Regions from separate parts of the Homo sapiens genome. Here regions 1, 2, 4, 5 and 6 are each linked to region 3. The links are contacts of gene promoters, found by promoter capture Hi-C in blood cells and fetal thymus (Javierre and others, 2016). All regions are on one chromosome and are shown on one strand. The core of a region is centred on a gene start or on the middle of the fragment in contact, and the rest is flanking DNA. Distances in the headings are between cores, read along the strand shown. Region 1 has its middle 150 kb from the start of LINC02242. Region 2 has its middle 6.2 kb from the start of TILRLS. Region 3 holds the start of PIK3R1 (phosphoinositide-3-kinase regulatory subunit 1). Region 4 overlaps LOC124900989 (a long non-coding RNA gene). Region 5 has its middle 54 kb from the start of TILRLS. Region 6 has its middle 140 kb from the start of LINC02242.

Evidence for each region. The method cuts DNA at HindIII sites, captures the fragments that hold promoters and counts their contacts. A CHiCAGO score of 5 or more calls a contact.
Region 1: a fragment that was not itself captured here is called in contact with the fragment with the promoter of PIK3R1 in region 3 in 1 of 17 cell types (naive CD4 T cells); the score reaches 6.8 in naive CD4 T cells.
Region 2: a contact is called between a fragment that was not itself captured here and the fragment with the promoter of PIK3R1 in region 3, in 4 of 17 cell types (fetal thymus, M0 macrophages, erythroblasts and 1 more). The highest score is 7.7, in fetal thymus.
Region 4: a fragment that was not itself captured here is called in contact with the fragment with the promoter of PIK3R1 in region 3 in 1 of 17 cell types (M1 macrophages); the score reaches 5.8 in M1 macrophages.
Region 5: a fragment that was not itself captured here is called in contact with the fragment with the promoter of PIK3R1 in region 3 in 1 of 17 cell types (M0 macrophages); the score reaches 5.4 in M0 macrophages.
Region 6: a contact is called between a fragment that was not itself captured here and the fragment with the promoter of PIK3R1 in region 3, in 2 of 17 cell types (total CD8 T cells and fetal thymus). The highest score is 6.9, in total CD8 T cells.

The regions. Positions count from the first base shown.
Region 1 is chr5:67,493,219-67,496,027 of GRCh38, reverse strand. No RefSeq gene overlaps it. Among named protein-coding and RNA genes, the nearest start is that of LINC02242, 150 kb to the left of the region's middle. The HindIII fragment of the contact is 1,194 bases long and covers 692-1,885 here.
Region 2 is chr5:67,260,442-67,263,141 of GRCh38, reverse strand. No RefSeq gene overlaps it. Among named protein-coding and RNA genes, the nearest start is that of TILRLS, 6.2 kb to the left of the region's middle. The HindIII fragment of the contact is 692 bases long and covers 1,058-1,749 here.
Region 3 is chr5:68,214,333-68,217,091 of GRCh38, reverse strand. PIK3R1 (phosphoinositide-3-kinase regulatory subunit 1) reads right to left here and starts at 1,336. Exons shown (of 16, transcript NM_181523.3): 1 at 1,143-1,336. RefSeq lists silencers at 620-1,719, 1,940-2,159. The HindIII fragment of the contact is 2,835 bases long and covers 501-2,759 here.
Region 4 is chr5:67,362,685-67,365,384 of GRCh38, reverse strand. All of the region lies in intron 1 of LOC124900989 (a long non-coding RNA gene), which reads left to right. Among named protein-coding and RNA genes, the nearest start is that of TILRLS, 96 kb to the right of the region's middle. The HindIII fragment of the contact is 1,070 bases long and covers 821-1,890 here.
Region 5 is chr5:67,321,035-67,323,759 of GRCh38, reverse strand. No RefSeq gene overlaps it. Among named protein-coding and RNA genes, the nearest start is that of TILRLS, 54 kb to the right of the region's middle. The HindIII fragment of the contact is 542 bases long and covers 1,046-1,587 here.
Region 6 is chr5:67,509,796-67,512,529 of GRCh38, reverse strand. No RefSeq gene overlaps it. Among named protein-coding and RNA genes, the nearest start is that of LINC02242, 140 kb to the left of the region's middle. The HindIII fragment of the contact is 6,690 bases long and covers 1-2,734 here.

The sequences.
Region 1 (2,809 bases), core at 39-2,538, 720 kb after region 3:
CCCACCATGGTCTCTGAGAAGGTGCTACCTCTCAGGCTGCCAGGTACCCCTAAGCCAGATAAGGCATCCCAGTGGGGTCAAGAGAGGCCCTGAGCTTGGCTCTTCAGCTGGTCTCAACCCCCAGTAGCCTGCATGCTGAGTTGGGAGAGAATGGGCCTGCTGGGGACCCTACTAGGGACAGGCAAGGTGCTCTTGCAAAGGCAGGGGGTACTGAGGCCAGAGGGTGAAGCTCCACAGCTAGGGAGCATGATGGGAGGCCAAAGCAACAAGAAGGTGGTGGAGGCTCCGCGAAACATTCAAAGCCAAAAGAAGAGGCCACATACTTCTTTGCTGCAGAATATGGAGCCAGTGAGGCCAGGACCACCCGGGGGTCAAGGCACAGTGCCTAGGAGACCTGCTGCTACTACCAGTCACTATGCATAAGGGTAAGCCAGAAGCTAGGAGCCTATTTCCTCCCAAGGCCTCACACAACCAGAGGCCACTGAAAAGAGAGCAATGAGGGAGGAGGAGGCTTTGGAAAGACTGAGCATTTTTATTCAAAAGAGACTTTATACTATGTGAAGGGAGTTTTTAAATGATTGGAATTAAGAGTAAAACATTAAATTGGATTGGACATTGGGTTAATTTTTGTTTTCCTGCTGAACAACCAGTAATGGCACGGAAAATGCCAGCTAAATCACAAACAAAAGCTTTCTCTGCAAAATCAAGTGGAGATGCCACTGACATGCTCTCCTGGTCACACTGTTGGATCCATGCCACTTGCTCTTGTTCTACTCATGGCCATGATCTCTGTGGACCTCAGGAAAACTTCTGTCTGAGAAGTTCTGGTCCCTGGCCTGTTTCTGGACTTTCAGGGGCATGTTAGAGAAGCAGCTCTAAGCAGGGTGATAACCCAAAGAATCCACTGCTACCATCAAAACGCATATTCTTCTTAGCCCACTCCCTGGAGAAGTTCGGGTACAGAAAAGACACTTCTAAAATGCACATTATCAACAAGTAATGAGCTGCACCGTTTAAAACAGCGTGTGAATAAAAACCCACTCCCTGCCTGCTACTTTACCTTTCCCAGCCTGTTTCCACTTTTTCTTGGTTAGGGTTTGGGTCTTGGCTACACTAAGATGTTCCTTTTTCTTTTTCCTTTTTCTTCTCAAACCACAGTAACTCACACAGGAGCCAAACCCCTTAACTAAAGAATAATTTATGACAGAGAAGCTAGCATTTTAAACAAAATAGTTTTGGGGAAAGGGGAAGAAAGCCAGGAGGTCAGAAGTTGATTTCTAAGGACAGCATGCTGGCCGCCTCCTCCTCAGGGCCGGCCTGCTGGGATTATCACATTACGGGAAGGGTCCGTGCCAGGGCCAGGAACCATGCCACCCGGCTCCTATTGATCCCCTCAAAGGACTCAGCAAAGCCTGCAGAGCTGCAGAGCAGTGTGGCTCTGAGCTCTAAAGACACTGGCCCTGCTGAAGGGCTTATTTTTCACCAGTCGGAGAGATATTGAAATGTAAGAGGTTCGGTTGCCTCAGTGAAGAGAGGCCATGTTGCTTGGATAAGTGATCCTTAAGCACATCATGTGGTGTAAGCGAAGGTAACAGGCCCCGCCAACAAAGGCTGTAAGTGGTGCTTGGCAAGACAAGGCCCAACCAGCACAATACAAAAAGATGATTCATTACAGACACTGTGCACACATGCTTGGCATCTCAAATCACACGCAGGAGCTGCAGATCATGGCGTCGAGTTCCACTCCCAGGTTGCCCCGTCAGCTAGTCAGGTTCGAGGGCAAGCTGCCTGACCCAGGTGTAAATAATGCAGAGCTGGCATGCCACCTCTGACAGTGGGACCAGCAAAGCAGCTGGAGAGAACTGATGCCACCAGAGGCAAAGCTTGTGCCAGAACTGGTGAAAACTGTTTCCCCTTTTTCTACTATAGGGAAAGTTTAAGATTTGTTGTAGGAAATGAGACAATTAAGTAAAAATCCCCCGGAAGATCAAAGGAAAGTGTAGGAACACATATGTCCAGGCACTGCCTTGGCCACGAGTGGTTGGTATAGATGGACATAGCTGCTGCCCTGCTGTGGTAGAAAACCTGTGTCCCAGTGATGGCTCTTCCTCCTCCTGCCTTTCTGGGATCACCAATCAGAGAAGACTGTTCATGGCAATATGACAGTGCCACCAGCTGGTGCTGCCTGCAAGGACTCTTTTGCTGTGCTGACTACAGAATCCTGTGTGCCTATGGTAAGCCTAGGATCTGTGAGGTTAGGGAGCTGCTGTCCTCAACAAATGGTTCTCTTTGGGGATTAACTGGGTTGGCAAAGAGTGAGCAAGCTCAAGAAAACTTCTGTGGTATGGTAAAACGTGGCTTTCTTGGCAAGGCTACGCTGTATATGTGTCAACTACAGAAGTGCTACTCCAGTCAATCCAACAAATACTTCCAGCAGCAATTCCCAAATGGTTTATTAAGAGTACGTATTTTTCATTTCAAGGGAGAACCTTATCTTAGAATGCCATGAGGTATACCAGTAATCATATGAAGTTTCCTATATTACATATGCTATTTATTATGACTATAACCGTGTAACATTTAATAACTTCTCCCCAGATAAGAAATTAATTTAATCTACTGCTTTTCTATTTAACGTCTTTGCAGTTTCAATGGGAGAAAGAAAAACAAAAGTGGAAGATGAATTATTTTTAACAGAATTAATATAGCTAAGAAAATACGCCATTCTAAACCAGTAATAATAGGCCCCTGCCTGGTTCCAACAGTAGATACTGTTTCTAACATTATAGCATTTTGCTGATGAACATGC
Region 2 (2,700 bases), core at 154-2,653, 950 kb after region 3:
CAGTCAAGTCTATCTATTACTGCATGAAAAACTGATAATAGGAGATTAATGTGTTTCACAGATAAGGTGAAGAAAGAAGAAATTGAGCAAGAGAAGAAAAGCAGAGTAAGGAGCCAAGAGTTTAATGGCAAAAGGACATTCATCTGAGGCATAATTAATCCTCCCTTCTTACCTTCAGCCCCAGAGAACTAGAAGTATAACTAAACAAAAGCTTAAGAGGCACCACTTTGGAAAATATTATTTCTTGAAACATGAATGGCGTGACCATGGGTCTGAACAAAGACACCTTTGGGGATAAATAACCCACAGACTGGTTCCTGCCCCTTTCAGGGCATATTTCAGAAGGAATCACATGCACTGTGTTTGTATCACAAACCCTTTGAAGCAAATCAAATTTTTAAATTCTCTCGCTGTTGCTTTAATATGCTATATCTTGCTTATCCATCATGTAGGAAAACATTAAAACTACTTAAAAGTGTTTACAGATGCTATTCCTAGCCTATTTTTCTCCAAAATCAACTAGTTTCCCAGCTGATCAACTGAAACTGTAGAGGATGTGGCACTCTCAGGAATTATACCCTGAAACAGTAATTTCAGGGTAGTTTTATCATCCTCCCAAAGTGATCATTGCATTGCCCTGGCTGTTGGCAACCTGCATGGTGACACTCTTTGACACAGGCGAGAAATAAGAAATATAGTCACGAGTCACTTCATGACAGGGATATGTTCTGAGAAATGCATTGTTACGCAATTTTGTTGTTGTGCAAACATCGTGGAGTATACTTATGCAAACCTAGATGGTATATAGCCTACTACACACCTAGGCTATATGGTACAGCCTATTGCTCCTAGACTGAAAACCCGCACAGCATGTTACTGTACTAAATAGTGTAAGGAAATAGTAACACAATGGTAAGTATTTGTGTGATATAAATTTTTCAGCTCCTTTATAATCTTATGTATAAGCATATGATACACCTATGTATAAGCATTTTGTCATTGATCAAAATGTCATTATGTTGTGTACAACTGCATATACGTTTTATAGTTGAAAGCTTCAGGTTATGTTAGTTAACTCTCCTGGTGTCAAGATATACACAGGTCCACCTGAATCCAGAGCCCACACTTTCAAATAGGTTGATAATAGAAATTTTTTTAATTAGCCACATTAAAAAGGAGAACAAAAACAACTATAGCTGACCCTTGAACAACATGGTTTGAACTGCATGGGCCCACTTACAAGTGGATTGTCTTTCCCCTCTGCCACTCCAGAGACAGCACGCCCAAAACCCTTCCCTTCTTCCTCCTCCTGAGCCCACTCAACAAGATGATGATGATTAAGACCTCTATGATGGCCCACTTTCACTCAGTGAATGGTAAATATATTTTCTCTTCCTTATGATTTTCTTAACATTTTCTTTTCCCTAGCTTACTTTAAGAATGTAGTATATAATACATATAGCATACAAAATATGTGTTAATCAGTTCTTTATGCTATCAGTCAGGCTTCTAGTCAACAGTAGACTATTCATAGCTAAATTTGGAGGGAATCAAAAGTTATACTAGGATTTTCAACTGTGGTTGGGGTCAGCTCTCTTACCCTCTGTGTTGTTCAAGGTCAGCTGTATATCCATATTCGCTCAGGGATAACTTTACAAAATCTCTTCTACAAACATACACTCTACATATATTCACAATTTAACAAAAAAGGAGGATGGAGATCATGCTTCATGTACTGTTGTATAAGCTTTGTATTTTCATTTGAAATACCTTGTGGAGGTCTTTCTACATCAATAAATACATTTCTACCACATCATATTTAATACTGGTTTCCATGGTTATCCCTGTACCATAATGTATGTAAGCAATTCTTGGACATCATGGGTCTTATACAGAGTACTGTGATAAATATTCTAACAGGTACATTCTTACACACACTTTTATCTCTTTAGGATAAATTCCTAGAAACGAAATGTACATTTTTCACATATTGCCAAATTCCCTGGCGAAAGTATATGAATGTTCATTCCCACAGCAATGTATTAAACCCCCCTTTTCTGCACACAATTATCAGCATTGGATATAGGCATTTTATCGTCTTTGCCAATTTGAATGGGGAAATAATAAGATCTCACCGACGCTTTATTTGTCTTCCTTAATTATTACTGGGTGAAACATTTTTCCTATGTTCTTTGGGATTAGTATCACGCCTTTTGTGAAATCCCTACTCATGTCAATAGTTTATTTTTCTTTCAGGGCTTGTTGTATAGTAATTGCTTGCCAAAATAATGTGTCCAGTATATTTCCCCAGATTATTTCATTTTCTTTTAATTTTTAATTGTTTTAATTGCAGATAACTTAAATTTTTGTCTTTCTTCTTTGATTTCTATTGTTGATATCTTTAAAAAGAATCTCTACTTCAAAGTTATAAAAATACTCACCTAAATTTTCTTCTTGTACTTCCAAACTATTTTTTAAATTGAAATGTTTAAATTATGCAGCATTTTTTGATGTAAGATGTAATTTATTAAGCCAAATGTCACAACAATATTTACTATACAATCTGTCAATCCATAACTCATTTAAAATTAGATCTGTATTTTATACTAAAACATTATATATAGTTCTGTTTATATCTAGAATTACTGCTCCATTTCATAGACTTTTGTCCTGATTCCTATGCCACTATTATCTATTTTC
Region 3 (2,759 bases), core at 87-2,586:
AAAAAAACCTAAAATCATGAAGCCCCCAAATAAAGAGCAGACTCACACTCGGACACCAACAGCGCTGCAGCTCAAGGGATTAACGGTGGAAGTGAGACCTTTCCGATATTAATAGCGCCCCGGGAAACAGAAGAATTCCCCCAAACCCAGTTGACACACATTCTGCATTCAACACGTAACAGCCATTCTGCATATATCCTTGCATTTCAGGCTCCAATTCTGGTTATCAAAGTGTATTTCTGTACAGGAGTGCCTGGCCAGAGGTTTTCTGTTCTCTTTGTCTTGTGATCTGAGGGGCAGTTTCTGAGCTTAGGTTAGAGCTGTGGTTTCCAGAGAATTGCCCACGATATTTTAGCTCCGGGTTGCAGGCTCCCTGGCTCTCCCCAGCCGGCTCCATATTGCTGGGCAGGTCCCTCCCGCCTCGCCCCACGTTCCAAAAGCTGGATTTCCGGGCGGTTCCAAGACCCCACTAAATATGCCTCCAACAACCTGCCCAAGCTTGGCTGGCAATAAACGCTGAGTTAGGGCCCCAGCGACCAACCGCCCCGAGGCGCACTTCCCCCACCCCGGAAGAGGAGGGCGGCAAACTTCGGAAGGCGGGGGTTAGGGGACGAGCTCCGGGGACCACCGCCGCCTCGCCCGCCCCGGGAAGGGCCCGGGCAGCGACCCTGGCTGCAGCTGGAGGGCCACGGGGGAAGGGAGCGCTCCTTCCCGCAACACGAAGGCAGCGGCCAGGGCGCTCTCCTCCGGTGAGGGGCCCCGGAAAACTGCAGCAAGGCGACAGCGGGGACCCTCCGAAGTGTGCGGTGACGGAGGGTGGGAGGAAGCCCGAGCTCGTCGGCAACTCCGGGGGCAAATGCGACCGGCGGCGTGCAGGACCAGCTCGCAGGAGGACGGGGGAAACGGGAGTCAGGATGGCGGGGATCTCACAGGACGCCGGCCGCGCGCGGGGGTAGTGCTGCCCGGCGGCCAGGAGATGCCGGAGGCGGGGAGGGCCGGTGGCCAGCCCGCTTCCCCCCGGCGGGGCTCTGCAGAAGGAGAAGCCGCTGCCAGTGACAGGAAGAGAGTCGCGGCAGCCGTGCACACATGCACCGCCTCCCCCGCCCGAGCACACACACCCGGGGCTGCTGCTGCCTACCTACCCCGCCCGCCGGCTTCCTTCCTCTGCGGGGCCCGCGCTGCAGCGGTGGCCTCCTGCCCGCTCGGTTCCGACCGGCCTCCAGCCCGGCTGCGACCCGCCGGCCGTGCCCGATCCGTGCTTGCCGTCTCCGACAGCTAGCCTGCCGCCCTCGCCGCTGCCGCTGCTTCCTCCAACTCCGCTCCAGCTGCTGGCGACTCCTCTCCGTGCGCCCGCAGCTCCAGCGCCCGGCGCTAGCCCCGCCTCCGGCCCGGCCCCGCGCGCCCCGCCCCCGAGCCCACACCAACCAGAGCCCGCGGCTCCGCCCCTTTCCGTCCGCACGGCTCGGGCCTCCGAGCCGGCGGCTGGCAGTGGGGGAGCGAGCTCAGGCCTGGCGGACCCTTCCTGCCACCGCCCTCGCCTTCCGCCCCCCAGCCGCGGGGATGCCCCGGGCGGCCGTGCCGCGCGCTGCCTCCGCTGCGGAGTGCTCTGGCTCTACACGTCCCGGGCCCGCCCGGCTGCTGGGCGTCTCCCAGCGCAGAGGCGGAGGGGTTCGGGGAGGTCGAAGACAAGTTCAGACCTCCCTGGAGGCTGGCTGCGTCTCTAATCCGAGTGTCTTTCAGCCAACCCCAGGCTTTTTCGAGCCCCTAGCGCCCCAGCAGAGTGGCTGGGGTGGGGAGGACTCGGATTCCAGAGCTCGCCAAAGCGGAGAGGCCCTGCAATTCCTGGTCTCGCCAGCACTGCCTTCCGAGTGGGCGGAAAACCCGCGGCACCCGCCTGGCGCTCCGGGGGTGAAGGAGGGGTGAAAGGGTGAACCGGAGGGACGGGCGCCCGCAGCCTGCCGCTGGCTAACTCCGGCAGCCTGGCACCGCCGCCTCCGGGAGCCAGGCGGACCCGCGAGAAGGGAAGAGAGTTTTCTGAGGGCGTACGCTGGCTGATGGCTTCTAGTCCTGAGATGACAGAGCAAATGGAGGTCACTCAGGCAGACCACGGGCCCCTCGGCGTTCGCGGAGTCGGGGGCGGGGTTGGCGGGGGGTGGGGTTGGCGCGGGCGGGGGGGGCGGGGAAGCGCAGGTGAATTACATTGTCTCTTAAAGGTGTTAGTTTTGAAATGCATATTCTTCAAGTAATAATTACCTAAGTTGCTCCAGAAAAATTTGATGTTGGTTCAAACCTTCCACTGATGGTAAGATGGAATGCCAGCACCACGTGTGCCACTCTTTCATATTAAAACATGTGAGAATCTGCTTCCTAAAAGCTCTTTCCAGATTCTCCTTTCTGCAGCTTAAAGCCCTGCACCCGCCCACCCTGTTTGCCTAAAGCCCTTTTATAGTTCCCTCCCAGTTTCCTTGCAAGAAAACTCTTAAAAACAAACACACAAAACCTAAGCACTTGGCCTCTGTAAAACGTTGAATTTGGTGGTTTATTCTTGTGGACGTTGGAAGTAGAGGGAAGAACGTCCTAAAATTCATCGCTTATCCTTAAAAAATATCATTTTTAAAGGTGACTCACCTAACAGAAAAGTAAGCTCCACTTTAGGCTATTCAGACACTGGTGTTTCTATTATTCCAAGATGTCTCTTGCAGAGGCGACACAAAAACAGGCAGCTACCCACATCATGTTTAAGAATACACTTTATCTGA
Region 4 (2,700 bases), core at 106-2,605, 850 kb after region 3:
AGGGCTTAGATGAAACATAACAAGTTAAAAGAATTCCACATTTTGGTGGCTTTGATTCTTGTCCTTCAGAATGGGTTAAACACACACACACACACACACACACACACATTCTGACATTTGGAGGTTCTGAGCCTTGGGTCTCTCCCTTCCTCCCACCTAGCATGTCCTCATAACTATATCTCGAAAAGCTATTCTTAAAGCTTTCCAAGAAGTGTTCTCTCATCTACAGAGTAATGTCTCCTTCCTCTAGTTTTCCACTGTACTTGCTCTAACGGCATTTGAATGAATGAGTGAGTGAATAAATGAATGAATGTGTAATGACGAAAGAAATGGAATATCCTTTGCTTGCCCATCTACAGAAGAGAGATGGAGCCTTCCCTGTTCCTCTTCAGGGTTACTTTTCCTCTGCCACTTTAAGCTCCATCGAAATGCCTCAGGGGCTGCAAGAGTCCAGAGCTCTCCATAAAATAATCTAATAAAAACTGTGAAGAACAAGGCAGCTCAGAAAATGCAACTTCATTTTCATCACCCTGGACTTTGCTTTGCATTGCCTTGGACTCTTGGGTCAGCATAAGGTCTGTAACCTTTAGGGCCTGGAGCCTTTTTGTTTAGGCCAGGTAGCTCAGCTGCCCAGCCTGAGACCAGGTCTCCACTGGCACAGGATGGTGAGGCAGAGGGCAGTGTTCCAGACGATTCAGAAGAGCAGAAACTAAACTTGGCTTTTAAAAAAAGCCCGAGGAAAGCAATTTTGATGCCTGGATAATCACCCCAGTTGCTTAAAAAGCATGCCAGTGGAAACCTGTCCCAGGGGTTCCAAGCTTAGGAAATACAGTGATTGAAGCTCCATCCAGAAGGAGGGTAGCAAGGCAATTAAGCAGAGGAACAAGTGGGACCTTTGCCTGGAGCAACTTCTGTTCCATCAATTGAGGGAATTTACTTGCCCTCAAAGGAAGGTTATTTTAGCACCTGGCATCAGAATTCTCAATATATGAGCTTTGCAGTCTCCTTTGATCTGAAATTACTAGTTCCTGGATTATCAGGCAGTAACCAGGGAAGGGAACATGTTCTCTAGCTGCACTTGGCTCATTGGCTGTGATTAGCTCAGAGAGCTGCAGCCCCCACGTGGTTAACCTACTTCAAGTATAGGTTTACTCATCACAGCTTCCTTCTAAAAACTCAATTGGACAATATTTTGTCACCTTTAAGGTCAGACTATATCTATGCCATAGGTTACCTTCAGCTTCTCCCATCTTTCATCCCCCAGCCCTACAGTGATGTCCTCAGTGATATGGTGCCACCCAAAGAGGCCCAAGGTATTGTTTTGTTGTGTTTTGTTTTAGAAGGAGAAGGACTTTGGGTTTCTAGTTTCAAATCTCAGGGGTGTGACTCAAGTAATTTTACTTCTCAGTTTCCTCCTCTAAAAAACTAAAATTGCAAAACATAATCTCATACATTTGTTGAGGACCAAGTGAAACATTTTATGTCAAGGACCAGAACAGTGACTGGCATATCATAAATGCTCAATAGATAATTGCTCCCTTCCTCACTCTTTCCCCCAAGTAGGCCCTGGAGAGCTCTTCTGGACCAGAGGCTATGGTGGTGCACTCGTGATAGCCGATTGTTAAATCTTCAGGAATTGTGTGATCCAGTTGATCAGTTTGATATTGGCTGTGGTGGAAGCATTCACATCACAGAAATCAGCAAACACAGTAAGTCAGAGCTTCCATCCACTCACCCAGAGATTTGGTTCATCACCATAGCACCACGTAGTTAGATCACCTAGAACCTTTCTAGGTTTGTATTTCTAACAATTTGCATTTCTAAAAATGCAAATTAACCAGTCACACCCCAGACCTTCTGCATGGAAGAAATCTGTGTTTTAACAAAGCTTCTTAGTAAGTGTGCCTGATATGTTCAATGACTAGCAGGGAGATGAGTGTGGGAGGAGTGAAGTGAGCCAGACGAAGAATAGGAAGAGATATGGTCAAAGAAGAGATAGGGTGGTGGTAGGAGCAGGGAGTATCGTTGGCCATTGTAAGAATTTTCACTTATGTTCCAAGTGATAAGGAACCCACTGGAGGGTTTTGAGCAGAACGTAATGTCTTTTAAATCTCATTTAAAGGGATCACTCTGGTTGCTGTGTAAGGGTGATGAGAGACGACAGTGGCTCAGACTCAGATGATACAGAAATACATGGTGAAAAGTGGTTGGATTCCAGATATATTCTAGAGATAGAACTAATATAATGTGTTGATGGTTTAGATGTGGACAGTAATAAAAAGAGAGAAGTAAAGGATAATTCAAAATTTATTTAGTCTGAGAAGCTGGACAGATTTTTACTAAGATACAGAAAAGAAATAGGCTGATGGAAGGTGGAAGGTTGGTGATTAGGAAGTCAGTCCATTTTGAACATATTGGGTTTAGAAAGTCTATTAGAAATCAAGAGGAAATGTCAAGGAGGCCATTAGATATGAGCCTGGAGTTTGGAGGAGAAGTTGGGTTGAAGATTTACCTTTGGAAGTCACCAGCTTCCAGATGGTATTTGGTGACCTGTGATAAGATAGCTCAGTAAAAGAATCAGATAGAGAGAAGTGGATCCTAGCCCTGGAAAGCATGGAGATCTGGAAGATATGGACAAACTAGCAAAGGACACAGAGAAGGAGCAATCAGTGAGTATTAGTTCAATACATATTATGGTAG
Region 5 (2,725 bases), core at 67-2,566, 890 kb after region 3:
TCAAGAGAAGGTAGGTATTTCTGCCTTATACTAGACCTTCCTTTACAATCGCCTGGCAAATGAAAGCAAGAAGCTCCAAATGTGGATGAAACATTGTTTCTGTCAAAAGCAGTACCATATATCATTTCCCCTGGTAATGATATGATTCACAGCATCATATCACTCTTCTGTGACCTAATTATAGTCAAATTCATGCATATTCATATCTAGCCTTGGACAGGGAGGGGTGGCGAGGAACCTCTATGCATTAGGAGACCACCCGCATGGGCAGATTCCCCTAATGAAAGCACTAAACAAGATTTTTAAATTTTTTATTTTTAATTATTATGGATACATAAAAGCTGTACATATTTATGGGGTACATGTGATATTTTGATGCAAGCATATGATGAGTAATGATTAAATCAAGGCAATAGGGGTATTTATCACCACAAGCATTTGTCATTTATTTGTGTTAGGAAGATTCCAATTTCACTCTTTTAGCACTAAGCAAGATTGATGCAAAGGCATCAATGTTCTGAGCATTCATGACATCCACTGCAATGTCTAGAGGGTACATTTTTCTCTCCTCCATTCAGGCATGATGGGTACACAGTTCCCTTGAGGACACTTGGCTCAAAATCCTGGAGAGGGTCTGGGGAAGAAGTATTAGGCAGCCTGGACTCATTGTGATATCCTTAGAAAGGGTTTGAAAGTTCAGGATTCAAAGGAGAAAAGCAATACGTGTGATCACACATATCTCTATCCCATCACCAAAGAAACATAAAAACAGACACATGCCCTTTGAATCCAATATTTTGAAATGAGGAGGAAGGATGTAACCTCCAAAGGTATAAAAAGAAGCAAATGTTGTGTATGTTAGTGGTAATACAGTCCTCCACCTGGTTTACATTGAAGAGTCCATTGGGCTGAGGGTGACCAATGGAGTCCTTGATTCAAACACCACTGTCTTCAAGGCTCAGCTAAACATCTGGGGGCTCATGGCTCAAAGCAACCATAAAAAACAGAACCAGACAAAGACGGCTCCTCAGAATATGTTCAAGCTTCTCATAGTCTTTAGTCTGAGCTCCAGCACTCTCTCTCTGCTAAGCCTTGGCATGACTTTAGAAGGTCACTGGTACTAACAGCTCCTAGGACTATACTTCAAAAGAAACCTGGGTGCTGACTATGCAGGACCAAATAAAGAGTTGTGATTTAACTAAAACTTCATTCCAAGAGAATTTGAATGCCTTTCTTTCCAGAAGCAATTCTGAATCCTCCCTGTCAATTCCCTAGTCTTAACCCTGTTTTCAGAGTAGCACATGAACCAGTGTTTTCCAAACAAATAAAGGACTCTGCTCAAAGGAAGCAAGTATATAAGTGGTTATACTTTCTTCAAAGATCCAGGACATTTGCAGACATAATCAATGGGCTTTGTAATCAGGCATGCTTGGAACATATCTTTAGTGTCACTGGGGGTGCTAATGTTATTCTCATATGGTTCCTTACATATGACACTCAAAAAAGTTCACCTCCTTGGAAATAGTTTATAAGAATATTTATTGAAATGTGATTCAAGGCAAGGTGTCAGAATGCTTCTACAAAGCTTCAGAGTCCTGAGGAAATTAAAATGCAACCTTAGCTAACCTTGGATAATTTACTAGAAATTTCAGTTATTATGCAATCAAGAGCATGAATTACTAAATTCAAGACTCTGTAAGGGATACTACAAACCATCACTGACCTCAAGCAGATTAAAATCTAGGTGAAAAAGCGAGTGTAGGCTAGGCACAGTGGCTTATTCCTGTAATCCCAGCACTCTGGGAGGCCGAGGTGTGCGGATCACTTCAGGCCAGGAGTTCAAGACTAGCCTGGCTAACATCGTGAATCCCCATCTCTACTAAAAATACAAAAATTAGCCAGATGTGGTGGTGCATGCCTGTAGTCCCAGCTACTCAGAAGGCTAAAGCAGGAGAATTGCTTGAACCTGGGAGGCAGAGGTTGCAGTGAGCTGGGATTCCACCACTGCCCTCTAGCCTGGGCAACAGAGTGAGACTCTACGTCAAAAAAAAAAAAAAAAAGTGAGTGTGTTAGTCCATTTTTACACTGCTCTGAAGATACTACCTGAGACAGGGTAATTTATTTTAAAAGGAGGTTTAATTACTCACAGTTCCACGTGGCTGAGGAGGCCTCAGGAAACTTACAATCATGGCAGAAAACAAAGGGGAAGCATGGCACATCTCACATGGCGGCAGGAGAGACAGAGAGCAAAGGGGGACCCGCCAAACACTTTTAAAACCATCATTTCTCATGAGAACTCACTCATTATCATGAGAACAGCATGGGGGAAACCGTCCCCATGATCCAATCACCTCCCACAAGATCTCTGCCCTGACACATGGGGATTAAAATTCGTGGAGATTACAACTTGAGATGAGATTTAGGTGGGGACACAGAGCCAAACCATCTCAGTGACTGTTGCAAAACAGCCTCAGTACAAAGCAGAATGTGATTGATGCCACAGGATACTGTGAATACAAGTCTCAGTCTTGTCCAGACATAGAAAAACAGAAATCAAACAAAACCCAGAGGCTTATTATTCCATTCCTAAATAACACTAACCTCCTTCTACACAGAAAAAAATATATATTTTTTCTTATTATTCATTGATTGGGTTCTAATCAATACTCATTTTAAATCAACAATTCATTGTGTGGCCTAATGCTATCACTCTCTTAAGTAGCCA
Region 6 (2,734 bases), core at 12-2,511, 700 kb after region 3:
TAAATGCTCTCACATCAAAATTCGGTAGGCATACATAGAAATAGAACTTAAAAAAATAGTTTCACAAAAGAGCATGTAATTTTACTATATAGAATGCACTGACATTTTCTAATCTATTTTATTGTTTAAAATTCTGGCTTTGGCCTACTAAATTGATTTCACAACCCTCTGATTTTAGAATCTTGACATCACATTTTGATTTTCTCCTGTTCCCCCTATACATCCAGACTTTGATAAGAAGAAAGACTGGAGTCAAGAAGATCAGACAGGAGGTTGTTGTAATTCAAGCAATAAGAGATATGAATTTCAGCTAAGGCAACATTATGAAAAGGATCTGGTAACTTTTACCTTATTATTAAAGCTCTATTTAATCCGCTTGCTATAACCTAGTTAAATAAACTTGGCAGCATTAGTGCACTTCTCAGATCATCATCTGAGTGCCTGCCAGGTTTCACACTGTGCAAAGAGCTTTACACATATGTTAATTCTAATTCTTACTGCAGCACTGGAAGGTAGATATCATTATCTCCATTTTACAGATAGAAACACCAAATCAAAGCTCAGGGAAATTAAGCAGATTTGCCAAGGTCACACAGATAGAAATTAGCAGGTAAGTGCATAGCCAGTCTATTTAGCCCTAGCTAGTTCCTATTAACTACTGCACAATAGTCTATTGAATGAATCTACAACAATATCTGTTGATGATTATTTAATGGAATTTCTGGATCCTAAGGTAGAGTTATGTTATAGGTATGTGTTTTATCATATTACAGAAGTATCCATCAATTCATTTTACTGATTGTTCTTGACACCAATGTCCTTTGATGTTGCCTTTTCTGCATCTGTGGAAATAATCAAAATGATTTTGTAGTGTTGCTTTATTAACAGGATGAACTCTTGATGTTTTTTCTAATATGAAACCCACTTGTTCATACTTCTTTTTAAATGTACCAATGGAGTCTGTTCATTAGTATTTAGTTTTATTTAAGACTATTGTATCCAAAATTCATATGACTAGTCTGTTGTTTCTTTTCTGGTATAGCATGGTCAGCTTTGGAGATCAATGTAATACCTACTTCATAAAAATAAATTCTAATTTTTTTCTCTTTCATGATTTGAAATAATTTAAGTAGCATTATAATTATGTTATTATTAAAGACTTGGTTGAATTCTTCCATGAAACAATCTGGAGATCTTCTCTTTATGGGGGTGTATTCAGTTACTTTCTCTATTTAAGATCATTTGTCTGTGTAGACTGTCTCCACTGGGGTCAATTTTAGTCACCTGCATTTTTTTCTAAAAACTCATCTACTTAGTTTACATTTTCAAAGTTATTTCCATAGAGCTATTGTAAGTAGTTGCTTTAAGTTATTTTAATTTTTTCTGTGTCCATGATTATTTCTCTTTTGTCCTAATTGTGTTATATTTACCATTTCTCCCTCATTTTTTAAAATTAGGTTGGTTAGTAGCTTATCTATTTTATTGTTTTATTTTTCAAAAACCCAGCTTTTAGTTTTATAGTATTTCTGTCTTCTGACTTGTTGATTTTTGCATTTATTTTATTATTTTTTTCTTTTTTAATAAACTTTATTTTTAGAGAAAATTTAAGTTTATAGAAAATTTAAAGAGAAGAGTCCTCATATAACCCTTCTCTCACACACAATCTCTCCTGTGATTAATATCTTGCATTCATGTGGTTCATTTGTTGAAACTAATGAACCAATATTGCTACATTATTATTAATGAATATCCATAGTTGACATCAAGGGTTCACTCTTTGTGTTGTGCAGTTACATAGGTTTGTCAAATGTTAGTGTCATGTATCCACCATTACAGCAACATACAGAATAATTTTTGCTGCCCTAAAAATTGTCTGTACTTTACCTATTCATCCCTCTACCTACCTACCAACCCCTGGCAACCACTTAATCTTTTTTTCCTGTCTCTATAGTTTTACCTTTTCCAGAACATAATATAGTTGGAATCATATAATATAGTATAGCCTTTTCAGATTGGCTTCTCTCACTTAACAACATGTATTAAAGTTTCCTCCATGTCTCTTTATGGCTTGATAGCTCATTTTTTTTAAGAGATGAGTAATATCCTGTTGTGTGGATTTAACACAGTTCCTTTATTTACTCCCCTATTGAGAGACACCTTAGTTGCTTCCAATTTTTAGCCATTATGAGTAACAATGCCATAAACATCTGTGCAGGTTTTTGTATGGACATAAGTTTTAAACTAAATTGGATCAATACTTCAAAGTCCAATTGCTGGATTGTATGGCAAGACTGTTTGGCTTTGTAAGAAACTGCCAAACTGCCTTCTAAAGTGACTATACCATTTTGCATTCCCTCCAGCAACGAATGAGAGTTCCCACTGTTTCACATCCTTGCCAGTGGTTTGGTCTTGTCAGTATTTTGAATTTTACCCATTCTAGTATGTGGGTAGTGGTATCTCATTGTTTTAATTTGCAATAATCTAGTGACATGTAATGTTGGGCATCTTTCCATATGCTTATTTGCCATCTGTGTATCTTCTAAGTGAGGAGTTTTTTCAGAACTTTTGCACATCTTAAAAAAAAAACTTTCAGTTTCAGGGGGACGTGCAGATTTGTTACACAGGCAAATTATGTGTCATGGGGGTTTGGTGTACAGATTATTTCCTCACCCATGTAATAAGCATGGTACCCAATAGGTAGTTATTCGATCCTTACCCTCCTTCCACTCTCCAC